Regions from separate parts of the Homo sapiens genome. Here region 1 is linked to region 2. The links are contacts of gene promoters, found by promoter capture Hi-C in human tissues and cell types (Jung and others, 2019). All regions are on one chromosome and are shown on one strand. Each heading gives the region's core, a stretch centred on a gene start or on the middle of the fragment in contact. The rest is flanking DNA. Distances are from core to core; before and after follow the strand shown. Region 1 overlaps LOC105379364 (a long non-coding RNA gene). Region 2 holds the start of DUSP26 (dual specificity phosphatase 26).

Region 1 (6,436 bases), core at 2,640-5,139, 140 kb after region 2:
AGGCTTGCTTGGTTGTGTTCTCATGGCAATGACAAACGAGCAAAGGTATAATATTAGCAAGGATCAAGAATATGACAGAGGTTAGGCATGGAGGCTCATGTAGGTATTCCTAGCACTTTGGGAGGCTGAGGCTGAAGGAATGCATGAGACCAGGAGTTTAAGACTGGCCTGGGCAACATATTGAGACCCCATCTCTAAAAAAAAACATTTTAAAAAAGAGTATGACAGAGAGGATCTAGTGATAACAGGAAGGTTATCATGTTAACGTATGATAAACACATGTTTATCTTATACATTGTAGTACACATAGTTGGCATACAACACATGTATTGTCTTTATTACAAACAACAAAGAAAATAAATGAATGAATGAGTGGGTGAATAAATGGGATGGGGAACAGCTTGAAAGACAGCATCTAGGGAGGGAAAAACCTACTGGGGCAGGTGGTAAGTGGCTCTAGCCTGACCTGCTTTCATTCACAGCCCCTAAGAAAACATGTTGTAAGTCCACACCCAATCTCACACCTTAAAAGCATAAGCCTTCATGGAGATCAAAGGTAGGATTTCTTCTAGAAAAGACAAGAAACTCTTGAGGTACAGTACAGGAAGTGTTAGGAGCCTTGTTCTTCTTGAATTCATATAGGCACCAAAGCTGAAAAATTTAGCAAGACATGCTGGACTTTTTCTCTCTTCTATCTTTCCTTTCTTCCTTTCTTTATTGTATAATGACCCTTATTAGAACTTACTCTGTGTAAGGCACTGACATAAATGTCTTACAAGCTTTATTTTCTCACAACAACTCAGAGAGGCATTATAATTATTATTTTACTATTGAGGAAACTGAGGCTTAGAGAGAGGTTAAATGACTTGTCTAGTATCATGGAGCTGGTAACTAGCAAAATAAAGTTGAATTGAGGCCTGTCTGGCTTTTTTTTTTTTTGAGACAGAGTCTCACTCCGTAGCCCAGGCTAGAGTATGATGACGCGATCTCGGCTCACTTCAACCTCTGCCTCCCAGGCTCAAGCGATTCTTGTGCCTCAGCCTCCTGAATAGCTGGGATTACAGTTGTGCACCACCACGCCCAGCTAGTTTTTGTATTTTTAGTAGAGACAGGGTTTCTCCATATTGGCCAGGCTAGTCTCGAACTCCTGACCTCAGGTGATCCACCTGCCTTGGCCTCCTAGGCTGTCTGGCTTTTAATTACCACACTGTTCTACCTCAGACCTCAAGTTTTGGTTTGCTTTTTTAGCAAGAAAAATCTCAAACCAGTTTGTTCTTATCTCCTTCCTTGTTTTTTTTTGTAGCAGAAATTGGTTGATTCATTTAAAGCACTGAGAGAGTTTTACCACTGAAAACATCAGCCCTTCACCCCTTACCTGTAACACCCAGAGATGTGTTTTCTTTGCCCCCTTTGGGCCACTTAATTACATTCTCTCTTCTTTAGGAGGAAAGCTGACATGTAATTATTTTCATGATTAACACTCTTGTGCAGCTAATTGTAATTATGCCTTATAATCACAGTTATGATCGTCAATTGCTCATTCCTGCCTCATTTGAATGTTTTTCTTTATTCCTGCTTCAAAAAGTTGATGGAACTTCTTGTATGCACTCTGTCTCTCTTCTAAGTCATGTGTGGTCATTATTTTGGTCTTCTCTGTTTGTTTTCACCCTTGTTCTTTTCCCACATTCCATTACGGCATCTCATTGGCTACTCTCCACTTGATGTTCCTTCTCATTTCTGGCTTGGCTTGCTTTAGTCTCCTATTCATCCAGTTGTGGAGGGTGGAGGGGAATTCCTGTCCCCAGGAGGATGGCCCAGCACATGACACCCAGGACTGGGCAATGGAATGACAGCAATTTACCAGCCACATATAATCATAGCCTTGGGGAAGGGACACTGTGCCAGGCAGGGCCCCAGTGCTTGCCCTCAAGAGCAGAGTGAACAAATGAGGGCGGAGGGAGGAGGGCTTTGTAGTATCAAGAGGGAGGGGTGCCTGCTGGTTCCTACCAGAGGAAGTGATTGGCTTGTTTAAAGAATTTGGTGGGCTTGCAGAGAACAGAAACTTGCTAGTCTGGGATAGGCGTGAACTGTGACTGGTTCCTATAATAAGGAGCATTGTTGGACCAGGGGGTCTCATTCATAGGAGCATAATTGGGAGGGGAACTTGTAGTTAGGCCATTCAAGAATTTTACCATACAAGAATTTTATGTGTGCTTGTAATCTCAGCTACTTGGGACACTGAAGTGGGAGGATTGCTTAAGTCCAGGAGTTCAAGACCAATCTGGGCAACATAATGAGACCTCATCTCAGAAACAGAATTTCATCAGATGTTAAGGCAACACATAATATAAGGCCTTATTTTAAGCCTTATGCTACAGTGCTCTCACCTTGAAGGTGGAACAATAATGGTATAAAATGAAGAGGCTTTCAGCACAGACCCTGGAGATGGCCATATAAGTTTGAGCTCTGGCTCCATTTCTTACTAGCTCTTTGATCATGGGAGGCTTACCTGACATTCCTGTGCCTTGATTTTCCCGTATGTAAAAGGTAAGAGTTCAGCAGCTACCTCATAGGTTGTCGTAAATATTAATCTTGTTATATAAAACACTTAGCTCAGTGCTTGGCCACTGTTTTGCTCAAAGCATTTATCTAGTCTTCTTAACAAGTCATCTCTGGCTTTGATCTTTGAATTCTTGAAGGTCTAGAGGACAACTATACTTTCTCTATTTATTTTCTTTCTGAAATGCTTAAAGAAAATGATCTGGCCTAATCTGGTTCTGGATGGCAGAACTCAAATTCTGGTGCCAGGCTACACTGTCCTTCCTAAATGAGAACCAAGTGAGGTCTAGGGGCCTAAGGCATCTCTTCTCACCAGCCTCCCGTCAGAGCCTGAGGACCACCTGACTATTTAAATCGGCAACACTTCAAACCATTCACTCTTCCTCAAACATACTTTGTCCTGGGCTGCAGCCTGAACCACTCCAGGGCCCTTATTCTATATTGTGCTCCAGGAGTTTCCAGCACATGGAATTGAACAACCTGGAGGCCCTGACATTGTCCCTTTCTATAGGCGTAACTCTCTGTTTCAGCAATGCCTCTTTATCTTCTCTGGCTATCAAAAGCTCTAAATCCATTAATCCATTCTATTCTTCAAGTCCCAGATGGTATCTCTCCATGAACCGTTCCCTTATATCCTCAGTAAGACAAGATGTTGTCCTTTTCTAAATGCCTCTATTTGTGGTTTGTTCCAATTTTGGACACTTATCTATCCTCACTGTGTCTTATCTTGCTGATTATATATACATTTAAAGTCTTGGTCTCACTCTGTCACCCAGGCTGGAGTGCAGTGATGTGATTACAGCTCACTGCAGCCTTGGACTCCTGGGCTCTAGTGATCCTCCTGCCCCAACCTCCTGAATAGTTGGGATCCCAGGCAGGTGCCACAGAGTGCCTACATTTTTATAAAGCCTAACCTCATCTATCTACCTAATATGTGAGTCTGGCACAGAGTGGGCATTTGATGCATTCTTGCTGATTAACCTTCCAAACACTGTGTGTGATGATCTCAGTCGGTCCCTGCTCTCGAGGCCTGGTGGGATAATGTAAACGGCGGGAGGAGCAGGGCCCAATGTTACTGACAGGCAAAGTCTCCTTTGCCTCATTTTGGCTTCAGGAATTAGGCTCTTCAAGAATTCCATCAGATAGCAATGAGTGCCCTCATTTTGGCCCAGCTGCTGATGCTCTGCTTGGCTCTTGCTATCTGATAGAAGGAAATTGATCCTGTAATTGTAATTTCTAGCCTTAAATCAGAGAGTCATACAGAAAAGGGCTCTGATCCCGGAGACTTTAGTGACTTTCTTTTCTGTGAAATTGTCCTCTGGGCAAGCTGACAGGAGGAAAAGAAACTAATATTCATTGAACACCTTTGAGTTGAATGCATTGTGTGACAGGCGTTATCACCCTAAGATTGCATCTCTGAGTCACATATGCCACGCACACATGTTGCAGGCTGGATTCTCCAGGAAGCAGGCCTGAAATGGAGACTGGAAGGTGGGAGGTTTATTAGGGAGTGTCTGAGGGTTTAATACCCGTGGGGAAAGGGAAGGAAGCAGGCATTGATAGAGGAAGAAGTTGGCTGCAGTGTCGTTACTACAAAGATTGCAGCCATCACTGGAGTTGGGATTGCTTTTCCTCTCAGAGTGGGAGAGGGGCCCAAGCTTCAGGTAGTCATTGGAGGTGTGCTGTCTCTGGGAAGGGATGTGACCTTGGACAAAGTCAGGTGGCTCTTTTTCTTCAAGGACAATTGCCAGAGAGTGATGTCAGCTGAGGGTTGTCTGTAGGGAGCACCCACAGAATCAGAGGAAATGAGTCATTCATTTCTGAACAGGGAGTTGTATGATGGGGCCTAGTATTCACTATAACACATTTCAGATTTTTGTTAAACCCATGCCCTTTGCCTGTGAAAATTGCTTCTCGTTCATAGTGGCAGGCCCCAGAGGCCATGTTTCGCTATGATACTATTCTCCAGCTGAGACCCTGGACCCATGTTGGGCCAGTCAGCTGTTCTTTCCCAGGACAGTACAAATGGATTCCAATTAATTGGAATGGTGACAGCTATTTTATGCCACATACATGGAGATGTTAAGAAATCTAGCTCATAAAAAGACACATACATGATAACCAATGAGGTCTGCATTAGGCTGTTCTGGCATTGCCATAAAGAAATACCTGAGGCTGGGTAATTTATAAAGGAAAGAGATTTAATTGGCTCACAGTTCTGCTGGCTGTACAGGAAGCATGGCACCGCATCTGCTTGGCTTCTGGGGAGGCCCCAGGGAGCTTCTACTCATGGCTAAGCCAAAGCGGGAGCAGGCATGTCACCTGGCAAGAAGGAGCAAGAGAGAGAAGGGGGTGTTCCCACACACTTTTAAACAATCAGATCTTGTGTGAACTCAGAGTGAGAAATCACTCATCACCAAGGAGATGGTGCTAAGCCACTGATGAGGGATCTGTACCCATGATCCAAACACCTCCCCCAGACGCCACTTCCAACATTAGAGACCACATTTCAACATGAGATTTGGAGGGGACAAACTTCCACACCGTATCAAGGTCTCAAGAATATGAAGTATCAGGTTGCCTGGGTTCCTAAGGATATTGTATTTCCAGGTCCTCTTTGCTCATCAGGCTGGACTGCACTTCCTGTCCTTGGGTTCTGTAAAATAGCCCGATGTCCTCTTACGTCTCACCTCATTTTCTTCGATTTATTTATTTATTTTGAGACATAGTCTCACTCTATCGCCCCGGCTGGAGTTCAGTGGAGCAATCTTGGCTTACTGCAGCCTCTGCCTTCCAGGTTCCAGTGATTCTCCTGCCTCAGCCTCCCAAGTAGCTGGGATTACAAATTTGTGCCACCACTCCCGGCTAATATTTGTATTTTTAGTAGAGAGAGGGTTTCACCATGTTGGCCAGACTGGTCTCGAACTCCTGACCTCCAGTGATGCCTCAGCCTCCCAAAGTGCTGGGATTACAGACGTGAGCCACTGTGCCCGGCCTATTTTCCTCAATTTAAAGAGGACTTCTGTTACTTTCAAAGAAAGGAGTACTAATTAAGGCCTCAGCTGAAGACACTGAAGTTCAGAGAAGTCAAAGAACTTATAAAAAATCACACAGCAAATTAATGACAAAACATTTTTTTTTTCTGACAGAGAAGTTTTTTTCTATTATACAATGTTACAAATTAAAAATTCCAAAAATAAAGTCCAAGTTTTGGAATTATTAATTTACATCTATCTTTTATTTTAAGATTTTAAAGTACATTCACATTCATCATTTCATTATATTTGATTAATACAACAAACTCACAGGTGTAGGCAGAGTAGATGTAATCCCCATTTTTCAGAAAAGGAAACTAAAGTCTAAGTCAGTGTATTAGTTCGTTTCATATTGCTGTGAAGAACTACCTGAGACTGGGTCATTTATAAAGAAAAAAGGTTTAATGGACTCACAGTTCTACAGGCTGCACGGGAAGCATGGCTGGGGAGGTCTCAGGAAACTTACAATCATGGTGGAAGGTGAAGGGGAAGTAGGCATATCTTACCATGTGGCAGGAGAGAGAGAAGGATGGGGAAGTGCTACACACTTTTAAACAACTAGATCTCATGAGAACTCACTCATTATCACAAGAACGGCAAGGGAGATGTCTGCCCCCATGATTCAATCACCTCTCACCGGGCCCCTCCTCCAACACATGGGGATTACAGTTTGACATGAGATTTGGGTGGCTGGTGGCAGGGGCACAGAGCTGAACCAGGGTCAAAGTCCAAGAGAGAGGGAGTGGTTGAATGTTGGAGGTGTGTCCAATTGAGCCTGGAAGTTTCTTTTTTTTGATGCCAACACACCCAGTTTTGGCCTGGGCAAGTACAGTTGGCTCAGA
Region 2 (6,490 bases), core at 3,239-5,738:
CATGCCAGGCTAATATTTGTATTTTTAGTAGAGACGGGGTTTCACTATCTTGGCCAGGCTGGTCTTGAACTCCTGACCTCGTGATCCATCCGCCTAAGTATCCCAAAGTGCTGGGATTACAGATGTGAGCCACCATGCCCGGCCACATTTACCCTGTTTTATGACGTCACCTTCAGGTGTTCATCCGGCCCAGACCCCTCAGCTTGGTGGCAGACACCCCTGGGCACCACAGTCATATCTCAGGGCAAACTGAGTTGCCCTGTCCAGTGCAAACTCCTTAAGCAGAAAGAGCACTGAACTTGAGCCTCCAAGCCCGGGCTCTGCTACTTACAACCCGTGTGACCTTGGCCAGGCACAACTTCTCTGAGCTTCAGTCTCCTCATCTGTAACCCAGGGAGAGTGATACCTATCTCACAGGGCTGTTGTGAAGATTAAGAGAGATAATGTGTGTGAAAAAAATCCTTGTAGGCCAGGCACGGTGGCTCATGCTTGTAATCCCAGCACTTTGGGAGGCTGAAGCAGGTGGATCACTTGAGGCCAGGAGTTCAAAATCAGCCTGGCCAACATGGCTAGACGCCGTCTCTACTAAAAATACAAAAATCAGCTGTGTGTGGTGATGGGCGTCTGTAAGCCCAGCTACTTGGGAGGCAGAGGCAGGAGAATTGCTTGAACCCGGGAGGCGGAGTTTGCTGTGAGCTGAGATTGGGCTACTGCACTCCAGCCTGGGCAACAGTGAGACCCTGTCTCAAAAACAACAACAATGCTGGGCACGGTGGCTCACACCTATAATCCTAGCACTTTGAGAGGCCGAGACAGGTGGACTGCCTGAGCTCAGGAGCTCAAGACCAGCCTGGGCAACACGGTGAAACCCCGTCTCTACTAAAATACAAAAAAATAATTAGCCGGGCAAGGCGGTGTGTGCCTGTAGTCCCAGCTACTCTGGAGGCTGAGGCAGGAGAATCGCTTGAACCCGGGAGGTGGAGGTTGCAGAGAACCAAGATCGCGCCACTGCACTCCAGCCTGGGTGACAGAGTGATACTGTCTCCAAAAAAAAATAAAAGAAAGAAACCAAAACCAAAACAAACCAAAGAAGCAAAAGAAATCCTTGTATAACTTTGAGGGAGAGAAGTGGGGATGGCTCTTCCTTTGATGTTTTTCTCTCCATAGCCTTCAAATTGCAGAATCTCTGTAGGCACTGCCGCTTTGCTTGGTCTCAAGAGAAACCACTGCAGCTTCCTACCTACTGCTCCTGGCTTCCAGTGGCTGCCTTTTCCCAGAGACATTGCACAATAGATGGAAGGTCAGAGAAGTCATCTATTGTGCCTGGTATGTAGCACTGGCATGTAATAATAAATATGTGATACATGAATGATATTATTACTGGAACAGAGTCTTTCTGTCCAGACTTGGGTATTTTTATTTTATTTATTTTATTTTAAAATAATAAGTAGAGATGGGGTCTGGTTTTGTTGCTCAGGCTGGTCTAGAACTCCTGTACTCTAGATACTCCTGCCTCAGCCTTTCAAACTGCTGGGATCACAGGCAAGAGACACTGTGACTGGCCAGAGTTGGGCATTTCAATAATCCTGGCCAAACTCTCCCAAACCTGCAGCCTCTACTCTTGGCCCATGTGCCCTATCCCCTCAATCTTCAACCAGGAACCAATGACACCACTGCATACCTGTCTGCCACCCTTCTCCTTTCTTACACACACAAACACACACACGCTCTACCGTGGGCCCAGTCTGCCCGATACATACTGGTCTCCGAGATAGAGGCCTGGCCAGACCTCGTCGGCATGGTTACAGGCTGTCTTGCCTGTGTAGAGGAGCCGCTCCAACTCGAAGACATTGAGGAAAGGATGTTGAACGGTTGGCATCTCCTCCAGGGTCCCTCGAGTTCGAACAGGAGACCTTGAGCTACTCCGGGAGAAGCGGGCCATAAAAGTCATAGAAGCCCAAAGCCAGTTACCAGGGCACATCTTAGAGGTGGCAGAAACCGTGGCAGCTGCAGGAGTGGCTGTGGTGATGATGGGTTCAGTTGCCAGGTAGCTGCTGCTGGAAGAGGAAGGGGTGTGAGACACACTTGAGTGAGTCCAGAGCAGCTGCTTCCCTTCCCTGGGCTGGTCCTTCGGGAGAAGATTCTCGAGGGAGAGAAGGTAAGCCTGGCTCTGGCAGGAGCCTTCAGGGGTGGCTTTTTCTTCAAGCTGCAGCAGCTCCTTTTGCTCAGCTCTTTGGCTCTGCCACGAAACGAGGTGGGAGAGTCACATGTCCTTGTTTACGGGGAGAGGGAGCTGCCCAGCTGCTAGGTTTCAGCTTCATCACCCCACCCCCACTGCCAGCACGCATACACACACACACACACACACACACACACGGCACTTGGGTGGTTGTCCCCACTGCTGGGGATCTTGCCAGCTGGAATCTGAGTCTCATCTGCCTGGGGCTATCGGCAGAGAGCCTAGGGAGCTGGGATGGGGTTGGGGGTACCTTTAGACCCATCCAAAGAGAATTAGCAGGGAGACAACAGCAGCTGAGGCCATGACACATGTCAGGCCTGCCATCTCTGTGCCAGAGTTAGACTTTAACCCCTTCGTGACCTGCCACTGCCTCAGAGATAAACCTGCTATGGGAAGGGTGTGGTGGGGGTGGGATGGGGTGAGTGGAGAATAGCAATAAAGAGGAAGAGTAAGTTTGCAAAAAATAAATACTTGCTGAATGCATGAGCTTATGGAAGAAGGCACCAATCTATGTGCACAACAGGCAAACCACCCTCCTTGGATCAGCATTAGGAAATTACTGATCAGATCTCAGCTCTAATGTGAGAATTTCTGAATCTAAGCAGGGTTGGAGTGTTTTGTCTGTGTGTGTCTTGAGGGGAGGGTGACAGAGGTGGATGGTGGGGGAATTGACGCAGGGTTGGAGTGTTTTGTCTGTGTGTGTCTTGAGGGGAGGGGGGACAGGGGTGGGTGGTGGGGGCCTAGAAAGCAGGAAGGAAAGGGAAAAATGAGGGATCCTGCCAGGTCCAGGGGCTCAGAGGCTTAGAATTACCAACCGTATGGCTGTTGGAGTCAAGTGACCCTACAAAACACGAGGTCAATAACGAGGGGCTTAGCAGGTGTGTCTCAGATTACCTGTTGAGCTGCAGAGCTGGGAAGGACCAGCGTTTGAGGCTTGCCCTGGGACCTTCAGGCAGGGAGGCAACAATGGCAAGGCCCCTTCCCCCTCCCTCCCCATCCTCTCACACCTGTGGTCCTGCCTGTTTGAAAGCAGGAGGTCCTGGAGCCTGCAGAATCCCCTTCCACTCCCTTCCTGGCCTCCTGCCAGGGGGACTTCAACTCTATGACCAGCAGTGAGAGGCCATCTTTGTCCCTGCCCATGCTCTGTCCCCATCTCACACCCCTAGACAGGGCCCAGCTCTCCCTTGCTCCAGTGCCAAGAGAAACCAAGCACTTACAAGGCATTAGAAGCAGGGGTTTTAGGACCAGGATTGGTGAGGGAAGATTGGATGTTAGGGAGTTTAGGGAGAGAGAGTTTTCAATGGCTGGGTCCGGAAGGAGCACAGAAATATAGCACTACAGCCATCATCACCACCACCATCACCATCATCACTACCACCATCACCACCATCACTATCACCATCATCTTCTTCTACCTTTGCACCCAGGCCTAAAGACCCCATTACTGTATTGCAATACAACCTTTCCTCTTAGAGAGTCTGCTGTCTACGAGATGATGAATGGGATGGGGGAAGCGTGAAGGAGCCCAGGTCTAAGAAGGATCTCCGTGGGGCTGTTTTTCCCGGGGGATGCAGAAGCCCCTTTCTGTCCAGGGATACAGCCCTGGGCATTCTCCAATCCCATCCGTCGGCTCCAGGGGCCCTGGCCCGCCGCTCCCTCCCTCCGCCTGCGGTCGCCTTTGTAACAGGTCCATGGCTGTCGCCCCAGTCCTCGCCAGCCTGGCAGCCGGGCCCCGCGCGCGGAGGGAGGGCGCCCGGGAGAGAGAGGCTGGCTCGCTGGGCTCGGGTGCCCGCTTCCCGGTCCCCTCCCTCCCCCGTCGCCCCTAGCTGGGCGCCTCTCCCCAGCGTGGAGAGCCAGCTGAAAAGGCGAAGGCCCGCCGCAGCCCCTCTACCTCTTTGCAAGCGCTGCGCTGGGCCTCAGTCCGAAAGGCGGATCGCCGGCGCAGACAGCGCCACGGCCATGACGCTCCTGCTGCTGTCGCCGCCGCTGTTTCTGCCCAAGACAGGTTGACAGATTAGCAGCTATTTTTAAGCCATGACACACACGTCGAAGCAGGGTTCAAATCAGCGTGTGCGCTGGTGACATAAAGGGACTCGGTCTCACATTCGGTGGCCCGAGTCGCCAGGCAGCGTGGGCTCCCCAGCCAACCCCCCACGAGCCCGCGCGCCTTGCAGACCAGACACGGCCCCGCCGAGCCCCAGCAGCACCGCCTGGAATGCATGCGTGTGTTCTCAGAGCTGCACCAATTACAAAGCGTTTTGCCTAAAGATTACATTATAAGTCATCCCAGGCACTGTCTTAAACACACACACTCCTCCCAGACAGAATTAACTAATTACATAGACACGATTCTGTGCACTGGCTTGTACATGCCTCGGTCTCAAGAAACCGTGTCATAAAGAACAATGGTCCGAAGCCCCCATTAGCCTTCATTATATGCCATGTGCTTCATTTAGCTTAAGGCATTTTATACTCCCCACAAGTCTATGAGGGAGACATAATTACTATTGTCCTAATTTTAGGGAGGAGGCGACCTAGGCACAGAGAGGCTAGGTACTCTGCCCTGGTCACACAGCTCGTTACTGGCAGAGCTGAGCTTGTTCAAACAATGCAGCCTGGCTTTGCAGTTTATGTCCTTAACCACTCTCTAAACCAGTGCCTCCCACAAAATGGAGAAGGCACCATGGATTTCCTTCATTCAGGAAGCCATTTCCACCAGCTCAGCTCATAGTGAACTTCACTTTCCCCAGACTCTCAAAACATTCATCTTCATATTTCTTTCTTTCTTTTTTGAGATGCAGTCCCACTCTGTCGCCCAGGCTGGAGTGCAGTGGCGCAATCTTGGCTCATTGTAACCCGCCTCCCAGGTTCAAGCCATTCTCCTGCCTCAGCTTCCCAAGTAGCTGGGATTACAGGCGCCCGCCTCCATGCCTGGCTAATTTTTTGTATATATTTTTTCTTTGTTTGTTTGTTTTTTAGTACAGATGGGGTTTCACCATGTTGACCAGGCTGGTCTTGAACTCCTGACCTCAGGTGATCCACCCACCTTCTCTCAAAGTGCTCAGATTACAGGCATGAGCCACTGTGTCCGGCCATCTTCATATTAATTTCTCATGTGCTGCCTTCTAGTGACATATTCACTTGATCGGCATTTTTATTGTAAGCACCAAGATTGTAAGCACTTTGAAGGCAGGGACTGTGCTACCTTCCCCAGTGCCTACCTTATTGTGTGAGAGGGAAGTGGGGGAGATGATAAATGTTAGCAGATGATGCTGTTGAGAACTAGGCTGGCTTGAACTCTCGCTGTCTACTAGAAGAAAGGCAGAAAGTAGATTGGCTCAGATTGAAGCTGATGGTGTCAGCTATAGCTGAAACCAGGACTGACTCCATTCCCAGCAGTGGTGGCAGATCAGGTTTTGATCTCTGGGTTAGAGAAAGTACTGGCCAATGTGACCAATCCCCAGGTTCCATGACAGGCTGCCATCCAAGTTTAATGTACCGCCTAGCCTTTTTTTTTCTCTAGAGAAACAAAATTCTTTTCACTTTTCCTTGTCCCTTGTGTTACAGCAGTTTAAATATGAAATGAAATCCTTGTCATTTAAAACAAAGAGGCAGGGCATGGTGGCTCACACCTGTAATCCCAGCACTTTGGGAGGCCAGGGTGGGCAGATCACCTGAGGTCAGGAGTTCGAGACCAGCCTGGCCAACATGGTGAAACCCCATCTCTACTAAAAAACAAAAATTAGCCGGGTGTGGTGGCAGGCGCCTGTAGTCCCAGCTACTTGGGAAGCTGAGGTGGGAGAATCACTTGAACATGGAAGGTGGAGGTTGTAATGAGCTGAGATCATGCCACTGCACTCCAGCCTGAGCGACAGAGCGAGGCTCCCTCTCAACAAACAAACAAAAGCGAAAATAAACAATCAAACAAACAACAAAAAACCCCAAGGAATTGACCTGAGAAATTTGAGATTTTAATTTGCGCATCCAAATTAAAATTTGGATTTAATTTGCAAACCTAGTTAAAACATTATCATAAAAGGAATTGTGAAAGAGCACTTACAAGATCAATATCTTTTTTTTGTTTGTTTGTTTGAGACGGAGTTTTGCTCTTTTTGCCCAGGCTGGAGTGCAATGGTGCAATGTCAGCTCACCGCAACCTCCACCTCCCGGGTTCAAGCGATTCTCCTGCCTCAGCCTCTCAAGTAGCTGGGATTACAGGCATGTGCCACCATGCCTGGCTAATTTGGTATT

What was found. The method cuts DNA at HindIII sites, captures the fragments that hold promoters and counts their contacts. A contact is called where the count stands out against the background at its distance.
Region 1: a contact is called between a fragment that was not itself captured here and the fragment with the promoter of DUSP26 in region 2, in 2 of the 25 tissues and cell types used here (mesendoderm cells and thymus).

The regions. Positions count from the first base shown.
Region 1 is chr8:33,735,269-33,741,704 of GRCh38, forward strand. The region is part of intron 1 of LOC105379364 (a long non-coding RNA gene); the gene reads left to right. Among named protein-coding and RNA genes, the nearest start is that of DUSP26, 140 kb to the left of the region's middle. The HindIII fragment of the contact is 7,961 bases long and covers 1-6,436 here.
Region 2 is chr8:33,595,535-33,602,024 of GRCh38, forward strand. DUSP26 (dual specificity phosphatase 26) reads right to left here and starts at 4,489. Exons shown (of 4, transcript NM_024025.3): 1 at 4,131-4,489; 2 at 1,761-2,057. The coding sequence starts at 1,981. RefSeq lists an enhancer at 2,155-2,655. The HindIII fragment of the contact is 23,069 bases long and covers 1-6,490 here.